2 separate regions of the Homo sapiens genome follow, and region 2 is linked to region 1. The links are contacts of gene promoters, found by promoter capture Hi-C in blood cells and fetal thymus (Javierre and others, 2016). All regions are on one chromosome and are shown on one strand. The core of a region is centred on a gene start or on the middle of the fragment in contact, and the rest is flanking DNA. Distances in the headings are between cores, read along the strand shown. Region 1 overlaps LRR1 (leucine rich repeat protein 1). Region 2 holds the start of PSMC6 (proteasome 26S subunit, ATPase 6).

The links. The method cuts DNA at HindIII sites, captures the fragments that hold promoters and counts their contacts. A CHiCAGO score of 5 or more calls a contact.
Region 2: the fragment with the promoter of PSMC6 here is called in contact with a fragment that was not itself captured in region 1 in 1 of 17 cell types (M0 macrophages); the score reaches 6.5 in M0 macrophages.

Annotation. Positions count from the first base shown.
Region 1 is chr14:49,604,824-49,611,263 of GRCh38, reverse strand. LRR1 (leucine rich repeat protein 1) reads right to left here. Exons shown (of 4, transcript NM_152329.4): 3 at 3,143-3,864. Among named protein-coding and RNA genes, the nearest start is that of LRR1, 9.1 kb to the right of the region's middle. The HindIII fragment of the contact is 276 bases long and covers 3,300-3,575 here.
Region 2 is chr14:52,704,118-52,710,557 of GRCh38, reverse strand. It overlaps PSMC6 (proteasome 26S subunit, ATPase 6), which reads right to left and starts at 3,358. Exons shown (of 14, transcript NM_002806.5): 1 at 3,254-3,358; 2 at 2,170-2,249; 3 at 2,036-2,075; 4 at 1,742-1,794. The coding sequence starts at 3,338. RefSeq lists enhancers at 2,998-3,047, 3,068-3,317, 3,618-3,677, 3,698-3,807. The HindIII fragment of the contact is 4,351 bases long and covers 1-4,059 here.

The DNA of each region.
Region 1 (6,440 bases), core at 2,188-4,687:
ACCTTGTGATCCGCCTGCCTCGATCTCCCAAAGTGCTGGGGTTACAGGCGTGAGCCACCGCACCTGGCCTTCAGATGTTTTAAATGTTTCTCAGGTTATTCTAAATTTGAAGTAACGTCTGAGAACCATTGGTTTAGAGTAAGAGTTCTTACATTGGGGATGGCAAGGAGAGAGGACTGGACTGGGTTTCAGTGGGAGCCAGGTTCCTTTTATGCAAAATTCTGTGTACTCATGTGTACAGTTTTCCAGTTCCTTAACTTTGGTCAGTTTTAAGAGCCCCTCTCCCCTAAAAAAGTTCAGAATTTCTTATTTGAAATATGATCTTTCTACCATTTTATAGGTTCTCAGTAATACTTTGGTCCACATCTTAGCTTCCAGACATGCGTTCAAGAAGCCTGAACAGGCTGGGTGTGGTGGCTCATGTCTGTAATCTCAGCACTTTGGGAGGCTGAGGCAGGTGGATCACAAGGTTAGGAGTTTGAGACCAGCCTGGTCAACATAGTGAAACCCTGTCTCTACTAAAAATACAAAAATTTAGCCGGCCATGGTCATGGGCACCTGTAATCCCAGCTACTTGGGAGGCTGAGGCAGGAGAACTGCTTGAACCTGGGAGGCAGAGGTTGCAGTGAGCTGAGATCACGCCATTCCACTCCAGCCCGGGCAAGAGTGAAAGAGACTGTCTCAAAAAATAAAAAGCAACCTGAACAATGGCTGGGAGTGGTGGCTCATGCCTGTAATCCTAGCACTTTGGGAGGCCAAGCCAGGTGGATTGCTTGAGGCCAGGAGTTCAAAACCAGCCTGGCCAACGTGGTGAAACCCCATCTCTACTAAAAATACAAAAAAATAGCCAGCCGTGGTGGCGGGAGCCTGTAATCCCAGCTACTTGGGAGGCTGAGGCAGGAGAATCACTTGAACCCAGGAGGCACTCCAGCTTGCGCACTGCACTCCAGCCGCTTGCGCACTGCACTCCAGCCTGGGCAACAAGAGCAAAACTCCATCTCAAAAAAAAAAAAAAACCCTCAACAAAATGAATCTGGTGCTCAGGGTCCATGAAACCAAATGCAGTTAGTGTTCAGACAAGGAGAAGAGAACCAACAGCTACTGAATCCTACTATATGCCAAATGCTTTGGCATTACATTAGCTCATTTATCGTCACAACTCTATAAGGTGGGTATTATTCTTCCTGTTTCACAGCTGAGAAAATGAAATCAAAGAGGTTAAATAGGTCAGGTGTGGTGGCTCACGCCTGTAATCCCAGCACTTTGAGAGGCTCACACCTGTAATTCCAGCATTTTGAGAGACCAAGACAGGCAGATCACCTGAGGTCAGGAGTTGGGAGACCAGCCTGGTCAACATGGTGAAACCCCATCTCTGCTAAAAATACAAAAATTAGCTGTGTGTGGTGGCACATGCTTGTAATCCCAGCTACTCGGAAGGCTGAGGCAGGAGAACTCCTGGAACTCGGGAGGCAGAGGTTATAGTTGAGCCGAGATCATGCCACTGCACTCCAACCTGGGCGACAGAACAAGACTCCATCTCAAAAATTAAAAAAATAAGGCCAGGCGCGGTGGCTCACACCTGTAATCCCGGCACTTTGGGAGGCCAAAGTGGGCAGATCACAAGGTCAGGAGTTCAAGACCAGCCTGGACAACATAGTAAAACTCCGTCTCTACTAAAAATACAAAAAAAAATTAGCCAGGTGTGGTGGCGGGTGCCTGCAGTTTCAGCTACTTAGGAGGCTGAAGCAGGAGAATCGCTCGAACTCGGGAAGCAGAGGTTGCAGTGAGCCGAGATGGCGCCACTGCACTCCAGCCTGGGTGACACAGTGAGACTCTGTCTCAAACAAATAAATAAAATGAAAATACAAAAATGAGCCAGGCATGGCGGTGGGCGCCTGTAATCCCAGCTACTCAGGAGGCTGAGGCAGAAGAGTTGCTTGAGTCTGGGAGGCAGAAGTTGCAGTGAGCTGAGATTGGACCACTGCACTCGAGCCTGGGCAACAGAGTGAGACCCTGTCTCAAAAAAAAAAAAAAAAAAAAAAAAAAGGGCCAGGTGTGGTGGCTCAAGCCTGTAATTCCAGCACTTTGGGAGGCCAAGACGGGCGGATCACGAGGTCAGGAGATCGAGACCATCCTGGCTAACACGGTGAAACCCCGTCTCTACTAAAAATACAAAAAAAAAATTAGCCAGGCGTGTTGGCGGGCGCCTGTAGTCCCAGCTACTCAGTAGGCTGAGGCACGAGAATGGCGTGAACCTGGAAGGCGGAGCTTGCAGTGAGCCGAGATCGCTTCGCACCACTGCACTCCAGCCTGGGCGACAGAGTGAGACTCCATCTCAAAAAAAAAAAAAAAAAAAAAAAAAAAGAGGTTAAAGTCATACAAAGTGGTGAAGCCAGGAATCAAATCCAAGTCTGACTCCAAAGACCACCCTTCATCACTATGCGAACTCTCTAATTTTAGAGTACATCAAAATCACTTGGAAGACTCACTAAGACACAGCTGGACCCCACTCTCAGTTTCTGATTCAGTAGGTCTGGAATGTTAGAACCTGCATCTCTAGGAAGTTCCTAGGTAATGCAGATCCTGCTGGTCAGGGGAGCACACTTTGAGAAACAATGCCATTCATTCATTTAACTACTTATTGAGTGCTTAATATATGCTAGGAGCAGGGTATACATGGTTTAGATCCTAGGGAAATAGTGGAGAATAAAACAACATCCATGTGCTGATGGATCTTACATTCTAGTGGGGAAAACTGACAGTAAACAAAAAAAAAAGTTTAAAAATATATATAACAGGCAATGAGTCCTATGACCAAAAAAAAAAAAAAAAAAAAAAAAAAAAAAAAAAAAAAAAATCAAGCAATGTAAGGAGGGAAGGAATAAAATTTAGATAGAATGGACAGGTAAGACCTTTCTGGGATGACACTTCGGCAGAAAACTGAATGAAGTGAGGGAGTGAGCAATGAGACTTCCTGGAGAAAAATCATTCTAAGCAGAGGTAAGGAACAAGAAGACCATTATAGCAAAGGGTCAGACTGTGCATAGCACTGTAAGCAATGTTAGACTTTATTACTCTGAGTTTGATAGGAATATTAGAATGCTATCAAAGACACCACATTACATGACTATTAAAATCTTACCTATTATGTAATATGGTTCGTGCAGAAGATTCCAATAAAGTTAATGGTGCTTGCAGCTTTATTACTGGAAGGACTTTTGGTTGTTCAAAAGTATTTCCAAAAAGATCCAAGTATTCAAGGGATAAATTTCTAAATTCACTAGGCAAAAATGGAAGCTTATTTCGAGCTGCTGACAAAAAGCGAAGGTTTATTAGTTGTCCTATCTTGCAAGGAAATTGAATCAATTCATTATCGTCAAGTTTTAAATTCTTAAGTTCCTGGAGCTGGCAAAACTGCACAGGGAGTGCCTTGATTTTGTTCTTGCTGAGGTCCAAACTCCGAAGTGACTTCTGGAGTGTAGAATGACACAAGGCTACACTAAATGACTCCAAGTGATTGTCATTCAGGTTAAGTTCTTGAAGGTGTATGAGGTCTCCAATTGTAGCTGGAAGCTTTTTTATATGGTTGTGACTCAAGTCTAATTTCCTAAGGCTTTTTAAGCAAAGCATACGCATATCAACTCGGACAAGCCCACAGTAAGAAGTCTGAAGATGTTCCAAGGAATATGGAAAATTCTTACTTAGAGGATAGTCTTTTTTGGATGTGATAACCATTTTAGTTTTAAAGTTTTCAAATTCTGAAGTCTTCACTGGTGTGAGCGTTGAAACTGGTGTATCAACATTACAGCCTCTATGAGCCAGTCTCATAGCTGAAAGGAAACCTTTTAAACTGCTGGAAATGGCCTGAATAAATAAAAGTTGTAGAATTATAAATTCCACTGGAGATAATACATACATGCTAGTTCTTCCCATAACAAATTCTATGGCATTACTTATGAATGTGATACAATGATTTACTGAAATTGACTGTAAAACTTTTTTTTAGTACTTTATTTTGACTAAATTTCAAGTTTAAAAGTTTTTGAAAAAAATTACGTGGAGGGACACATTCTAAATAAAACTGTTCAAAGGGAAGTCATGCCAACACTTTGGGAGGCTGAGGTGGGAGGATCACCTGAGCCTAGGAAGTAGAGGCTGCAGTAAGCCATGATATCACTGCCCTCCAGCCTGGGCAACAGAGTGAGACTGTCTCAAAAAAAAAAAAAAATAACAAAAATAAAGGGAAATCATAAGAGTATAAAATAAGATAGGAAATGATTGACTATTCCACTTAAGATTTGAGTTTAGGTGGGGCGCAGTGGCTCACGCCTGTAATCCCAGCACTTTGGGAGGCCGAGGCAGGTGGATCACTTGAGGTCAGGAGTTTGAGACCAGCCTGGCCAACATGGTGAAGCCCTGTTTCTACTAAAAATACAAAAATTAGCTGGGCGTGGTAGTGCATGCCTGTAATCCCAGCTACTTTGGAGGCTGAGCAAGGAGAATCGCTTGAACCCGGGAGGCGGAGGTTGCAGTGAGCCGAGATTGTGCCACTGCACTCCAGGCTGGGCAACAGAGCAAGACTCTATCTGAAAAATTAAAAAAAAAAAAAAAAAATTTGAGTTTAAGGCCAGGTGTAGTGACTCACGCCTATAATCCCATAACATTGGGAGGCCAAGGCAGGCGGATTACTTGAGGTCAGGAGTTTCAGACCAGCCTGGCCAACATGGTGAAACCCCTTCTCTACTAATAATACAAAAATTAGCTGGGCAATGTGGCGCATGCCTGTAATCCCAGCTAGTCAGGAAGCTGAGGCAGGAGAATTGCTTGAACCTGGGAGGCAGAGGTTGCAGTGAGCCGAGATCGCGCCACTGCACTCCAGCCTGGGCGACACAAGTGAAACTCGGTCTCAAAACAAAACAAAACAAACAAACAAAAAAGGCTGGGACTGGTGGCTCACGCCTATAATCCTAGCACTTTGGGAGGCCAAGGTGGGTGGATCACCTGAGGTTAGGAGTTCAAGGCCAGCTTGGCCAACATGGTGAAACCCCGTCTCTACTAAAAATATAAAAATTAGTGGGGCATGGCGGCAGGCGCCTGTAATCCCAGCTGCTTGGTAGGCTGAGGCAGGAGAGTTGCTTGAAACTGGGAGGCAGAGGTTGCAGTAAGCCAAGATCGCAAGACTGCACGGCAGCCTGGGCGACAGAGCGACTCCATATAAAAAAAAAAAAAAGAAAAAAAAAAAAGCTAATTTTTGTTGGAACATGGAAGCTATGTAGAGCAAAAGATTGGAAATACAGTATGAGGACAGATTGTAAATGAGCTCAGATGCCAACGTAAAGTGGAGGGATTTTAAGTATGAAAGTTACATGACAAGAACTAAATACTATTTTGGTAGCACTGTACACAATGAACCAGAGTAGGGAAAAGTCTGGAGAAGACCTGGGTCAACTAGGTACAATAAAGCATACTGGTTCACAGACTTGGGATTCACCCATATAACAGCTGAACTATCAAATGGAAGGCAGGTATGACAGAAAACAGCAGAGGACTGAAATAAAGCCTTTATTTTGGGGATAGAAAAAAATGTTGCTGGAAGCAAGAGACAAAGAAGTGACTAAGAAAACTGAAGGTAAACCATAGTGCCCTATCATAGATACCAAGAAAAGAAAGAGTTTTATTAAGAAAAGGGTAATTATCATTGTCAAATTCTACAGAGTGCAAAAATAATGAGAAATAATGATACTGTGATAGACAAGTGAAAAGATCAGTGATCTCTGAGACAGTGTTTTCAGTAAACCAGTAAAGGTCAAAAGATAAAAAGTGGAGACAATGAATTCAGCCTTGTCTTTCTAGAAATTTGTTTTCTTTTTTTAAAATCAGTAAGATCTCAGCTTGTTTTTAGATAGAAAGGAAGAATTAGTGAAAGAATAAGCTGCAAGTCAAGAAAAAAAATGAAAAATCACAAGGAGGAGATGGGACAAAATTATTCCATTCAATCCAAACTCCTTAGTTATCGAACTTTTAATGTTGCAGAGCACTTTGCTTGGAGTTAAAAATAATGCACAGTTGGGCCAGATGTGGTGGACCATGCCTGTAATTTCACCACTTTGGGAGGCCAACGTGGACAGATTGCTTGAGCCCAGGAGTTTGAGACCAGCCTGTGCAACAAGGTGAAACCCTGTCTCTACCAGTACAAAAAAATTAGCCTGGTATGGTGTTGTGCCCCTATAGTCCCAGTTACTTGGGAGGCTGAGAAGGAAGGATCACCTGAGCCTGGAAGGTCGAGGGTGCAGTGAGCTGTGATGGTGCCACTGCACTCCAGCCTAGGTGAGAGTGAGACCTTGTCTCATCAAAAAGAAAAAAAAAGCAAGGTTGAACAACGAGACATTGTTTCCACCCATCAGGAAGGGAAAGAGGAATAGGGCAGAGGGCAGAAGGCA
Region 2 (6,440 bases), core at 2,109-4,608, 3.1 Mb before region 1:
ACACATTAGGTTGAATCATACTAAATAATTTCTTGGCTTATCTGGCTAAAATTAGAATCTACTAGATCTGCCTCACTCTCAGGATGTTGTTACTTTTCAAAGATAAAGTTACTTTTTTTTTTGAGATGGAGTACGGAGTCTCACTCTGTCGCCCAGGCTGGAGTGCAGTGGCGCCATCTTGGCTCACAGCAACCTCTGCCTCCCTGGTTTAGGCAATTCTCCTGCCTCAGCCTCAAGTAGCTGGGATTACAGGTGTGTGCCACCATGCCCGGCTAATTTTTTTTTGTATTTTTTAGTAAAGACGGGGTTTCACCATGTTGGTCAGGCTGGTCTTGATCTCCTGACCTCGTGATCTGCCCACCTCAGCCTCCCAAAGTGCTGGGATTACAGGCATGAGCCACCCCGCCCGACCCAAGTTACTTTTTAATAGTTTAAAAAACTGCGTGCCAATACAATTTCGGAATCATATAAATTACTGACCACTTGTCACAGGATTTTACAAAGAGCTTCAAATTTAGGAAGATAGGCAAAACACTAGGATTAATATAACAATTAAGGAAAAAACGGCTAAGAAGTGAGGTTACTTGAAAAAATAAGAGGAGAAATCAATATGAAGCTATTTCAATGTTTACATCTATAGGAAATACAGGCTGAGTATTCTTAATCTGAAAATCCAAAATGCTCCACAATGTGAAATTTTTTGAATGCTGACATGATGCTCAAAGAAAATGCTCATCGGAGCATTTCAAACTTTTGATTTTTTTTAATTAGGGATGCTCAACCAGTACAACACAAATATTCTAAAACCTGAAAAAAAAAAAGCCAAAATCTAAAACACATTTCTGGCTCAAGCATTTTGGATAAGGGATACTCAACTTATATATACTTCGGCTTTTCTAATGTTTTTTAGTCTTCAAATACAGTCTTGTCCTCATGCAACCTGAAATATCTTAGAAATGCCAACTTTCGGCATCCACAGAGCCCTGAAAGGGACATGAAAATCCCTTGTCAGTTTAGGTATCTAATATTTTGACTTAGAAAATGTCAACCGCTTATATACTAGGCAAAATCCTAATAGGAGATTTATAGTTCCTGGATTAAATTCTCCCTTACAGCCATGTTCTGTGAATGTTTTAAAACCTGAACCTGAAATGACAATTAAACAGAGAAAACTCTTCCAATGAATTTAAAAGAATTATCTAAGGACACTTCCTAAAGAATAATACATAAATTGATTTCAGACACTACTGAATGACTTGAGGTCATTTGTTGGCATCTTTGATAACTGTAAAATAAAATTTAGAATTATTTCAACTTGCCCTACCCTAATCTAAATGACCTCATACAAAATTAACTTAGGCCATGGTACAGTCCATAAGTAACAGTTCTGAATGTCTAAATATAAACACAGGTAACTGATGATATCTAACACTTTTAAGTCCTCTTTAAAAATGACATTAAAATAAAATGTCTGTTTTCCAGTTCTAAAATACTTTTATTTCTAAGTGGCTATTAACAGATCTGACTGAGACAATGTAATACAGTAGAAAGTACGGAATGCCAGGAGTCAAAGCCCATGGTTTGAATTCAGGCTTTGTTAATAACTAGCTATGTCTGAACAAATCATCCTTGTGAGTTATGGGCATAAATGCTCCACCTGCTTGCCTCAAGAATTAGAGACAATAACTTACATGAAACTGCTTTGTCAATCATCAGGCACTATACAAATATAAAGTATTACCTGTCGACGACAACCCACAACATATCTTGGTCCATTGGTAGCTTTAACAATGACTAGAAGAAAAAACATAAAAGAACTAATTGAAAAATAGAAAGTAAAAAAATACATACCCACGTTGACAGAGGGTTTAGTTGTATTTCTGTCCTCCAAGGAGACATTAGTTGAAGGAAAACTTAAGTCTATTCAAAAATACTCTCTCTCTCTGCATTATTGTCATTAAAATAATAAGCATTTCAAAAGTGAGAGAGAGGTGGACTGTTTCTTTACTAATTAATAAGCTAATTCATCACTCACATTTTTCTTCAGTTAACTGTTTAAGCACTTCACCCACGATCTAAGGAAGAAAATAAAAAGCATTACTTTTTGGCAACAGCTAAATAAAAAAGCAAATTACCATCACCCCCTATTCCCCAAACTCCATCACCTACCTGCCCAACACTCTGTAGGGCCTTCAGATCATTTTCAGACTTTTCATACTGCTTGGTAAGTTCTTTTAATTGTTCCCTTACTGAAATAATACAATTTGAACATTTTTAATTGAACAGTAATCTTAGTGTGTTTAAGTCGCTACGTCTCACTTTACTGTTTACGTAAGTCTACTTCACTTTACCTAAGTTTCACATCCACTGTTTCAAACCATAAAAGAAATAATGCTGTTTGTAATGAGTAGGTGGCATGTATAACAACAAAATGTTACAGAGAAAGCACCATACTTTTACTTTGTTGATCGGCAATACTTGTTTAAGCACATCTTAAGTTATAGTCTTAGAAGATATTGACACCCTGACACTTAGGATTTGCGACTACAAATCCGAATGATAATCACTTAGACCCTTCCTCACCTCTTCACCTACCCACGTGGATTGTTCTCTGACATTCTACCCTAAATAAAGTCAACAAATGCAGTTCTCCACAGAATCATGTAATTATGGTCCTCCATTTAATTAAACTACTCATGCTTTTCAATGAAAATGCACTGGAAAAAAAAGTTAAGCACTCAGGAGGTAAGGGAAATTTGTATGCCTGATACAGTACAACACGAAACACAAGACGATATGGGTTATTATGACAACTGGAACACTTCTCTCTTAAGCTCCGCGGCCGTCTTTCGACTCCAAGAACAAGCCGACTCCCTGAGTCTCATCTCTTGTTTGAGCTTACTTGACTCAAGCGCCTTCCCCTCTCCAAGTCCCGGGACTCCACCAAGACTGCCCTTCTTGCACCCTAACCTGGGAAACATCCTCGGCCCACTTCCCCACTCCTCCTCTACTTCTTTTTCATTTTCACCTCAAGGCCGCCGATGTTCTGTCACCCGGGCTGGACTGGGCCATTTCTACACCCGAAGGAGTGCTGCTCCACAAGCTCAGGGCCGGATGACAAAGCGCCTTGTCCCTGGCCCTAGGCCTGGTCATCTCTAAGGCTCGGTTGCCGGGCTCGGCGAAAGGCTTCTGCTTTGTCAGAGGCAGAAGCGAGTCGAGGCACTTGATTAAATGGAAAGAAAGGTGCACTCACACTCCTTAAGACGGCCGTCGATCTCCTTGTGTTCAAGCAACTTCTTGCGGTAGTCCTGAAGCGCCTTATCTCTAGGGTCCGCCATGATGAGAAGCCGTCTCTCATAGGGGATGCCGGGAATGGCCATGGCCGTCCGGGCGGGGGAAGGGGCGGGGCGAGGGGCGAAACCCTGCCTGGAGGGGTGGGTTCGCCCATGAGCCCTCCCCTTCCGGTTGGCCCCGTCTTTCTACTCCACTTCCACCTCTATGTCTCGGTTCACCTAGAGCGCCGGCATACACTGAAAGAGGCCTCCACCTATACCGTTTCTTGCAAGCCGAGATAGGTAAAGCAGGACTCAGTTATCCCGGTCTTCCCCTGAGAGGCCTCAGTATTAAGTCACTGCTGTCCCGGAAGTATAAAAGGCTCTGTAATAAACTGAGATGGAAGTGAAGTAGGAAATGTGTAATACCTCAAAGGAGTTCCGATGGCCTGTCGACACAACACAGATGGCCTTTGTTATAACACAGTACTGTCCAAGACCTCCACGTGCTGGAGAAGTAGACAGTTTTATTCATCCATTCAGTCAGTGAATGAGGTATTAAAGGTAGATCTGCTTATCATTTGATAGGAAATAATAATAAAAAAAACTTCAGAGTTTAACAAATACTGTGAAGGAATTAAAACACGGTGAGAAGTATGGTGGGAAGAATTAATCTAGAACAGATATCTGAGATGAGAAGGAGCCAGCCTTGCAACAACTGAAGAAAACCTAAACAAACAGTGCAAGTCCTGGAGTGGAGTGGGGTGGGGGTTGTGGGTAGAAAGCTTGACTCACTTCCAGGAACAGAAAGGAGGCCAATGAGACCAGTAGGGGGTGGGTTGTAGAGATGTGGGGTACAAGATAAAGATGCTGAAGTAGGCTGAGGCAGGAACTTTGAAGTCTGATAGAACCTTCAGATTTATGTATTTATTTATTTACTTTTGAGATGGAGTCTTGCTCCTGCCGCACAGGCTGGAGCGGTGACGCGATCTCAGCTCACTGCAACCTCCACCTCCCGGGTTCAAGCAATTCTCCTTCCTCAGCCTCCGGAGTAGCTGGCATTACAGGTGTGCGCCACCACAACCGGCTAATTTTTGTATTTTTAGTAGAGACGGGGTTTCGCCATGTTGGCCATGCTGGTCTCGAACTGCTGACTTCAGGTGATCCACCCTCCTCAGCCTCCCAAAGTGCTAGGATTACAGGTGTGAGGCACTGCGCCCGGCCAGATTTTTTTTTTTTTTTTTTTTTTTTTGAGTCTGTGTCTCACTCTGTCACCCAGGCTGCAGTGTAGTGGTGCGATCTTGGCTCACTGCAACCTCTGCCTCCCGGGTTCAAGCGATTGTCGTGCCTCACCCTCCTGAGAAGCTGGGATTACAGGCGCCCGCCACCACGCCCGGCTCATTTTTGTATTTTCAGTAGGAATGGGGTTTCACCATGTTGGCCAGGCTGGTCTCCAACTACTGACCTCAAGTGATCCGCCCGCCTCAGCCTCCCAAAGTGTTGGGATTACAGGCGTGAGCCACGACGCCTGGCCAACTTTCAGATTTTTGTGATTTGGGGAAAATTACATACTCCCTCAATATCTCTGTAAAATGATCATAATAATTGCACTTATCTAATGGGGTTGTCATGAGTATTAAATAGGATAATGTGCCTAAACACAACATCTGCCACATGGCATGTACTCAATAGTGTTCTTTTGAATAGATATTTATTTTAAGGGTAGTAATGACTCCAATTTTTGCATTACAGGTCCTCATTGCTATACCTCTTGCTATCATTGTTCCTGGGGACAATTAATTGTTGTCCAAAAAACATGAGTAAAATTCTCCAAATAGATTCCATTTGGTCTCACCTTATCCAATGGCCATGAATGTTTGAGTTTAAATATATACATCCTAAATATACAAATAAAGTACAAATTTTTGTAAATTAATGACCCAAAGTCACATAAAGGATGCCTTCAAATTTATTAGGAACAATTCTCATGGGTATTGTGTGAATATTCCATTCTATTTTTCTTTTTTTTTTTTTTTTTTTTTTTTTTTTTTGAGTTGGAGTCTTGCTCTGTCGCCAGGCTGGAGTGCAGTGGCGCGATCTCGGCTCACTGCAACCTCCACCTCCCGGGTTCAAGTGATTCTCCTGCCTCAGCCTCCCGAACAGCTGGGATTACAGGCGCACACCACCACGCCCAGCTAATTTTTGTATTTTTAGTAGAGACAGGGTTTCACCATGTTGGTCAGGCTGGTCTCGATCTCCTGACCTCGTGATCCGCCCGCCTCGGCCTCCCAAAGTGCTGGGATTACAGGCATGAGCCACCGCGTTCGGCCAATTTTTCTAAATGTGACTGGGTTCTTGCAGTATACAATGAACAAGGAAGCTGTATGGGGCAGGGATAGTCCCTTCTCCCACTCAGTTGCAACTACTCTGGTCAAACTAGTCCATCCATACCAAAACATGTCACCTCTGACATCAAGAAGTAAAGAAGAGAGGACAAGGCAGAGAAAGAAAGCTCAGTATGGCTCAATTTAAAATATTTATGAGCACATACTGATAGGTTATTTTAACATTAATCACATCAATATTTTAAAGTCCCTTAACCCTTGTTCTTTTTCTTTTACCCATCTGGCAGCATTTCAACTTCAGAAGAATCTTCTATTTTCCCCATGCCTACACTAGCCCTGTTACTTTTTTGTTTGTTTGTTTGTTTTTTGTTTTGAGCAGGAGTCTCGCTCTGTCGCCCAGGCTGGAGTGCAGTGGTGCGATCTCGGCTTGCTGCAACCTCCGCCTCCCGGGATCAAGGGATTCTCCTGCTTCAGCTTCCAGAGTAGCTGGGACTACAGGTATGCGCCACCACACCCGACTAATTTTTGTATTTTTGGTAGAGATGGGGTTTCACCATGTTGGTCAGGCTGGTCTTAAATTCCTGAGCTCAGGTGATCCACCCGCCTTAGCCTCCCAAAGTGCTGGGATTACAGGTGTGAGCCACCGCGCCTGGCCGTTACGTTTTTATACATGCCTATAAGACTGTATTCCTCTCCATCTGAAAACGTAGCTCAACTTGTAATTATATATTCTTAAACGTGATTAAATGTTTAGAGTCTTTTCTCTGCAGTGGACTGTAACCCCTCGGAAAACAAGGACTATGACTATTTATTTCCCCTGATT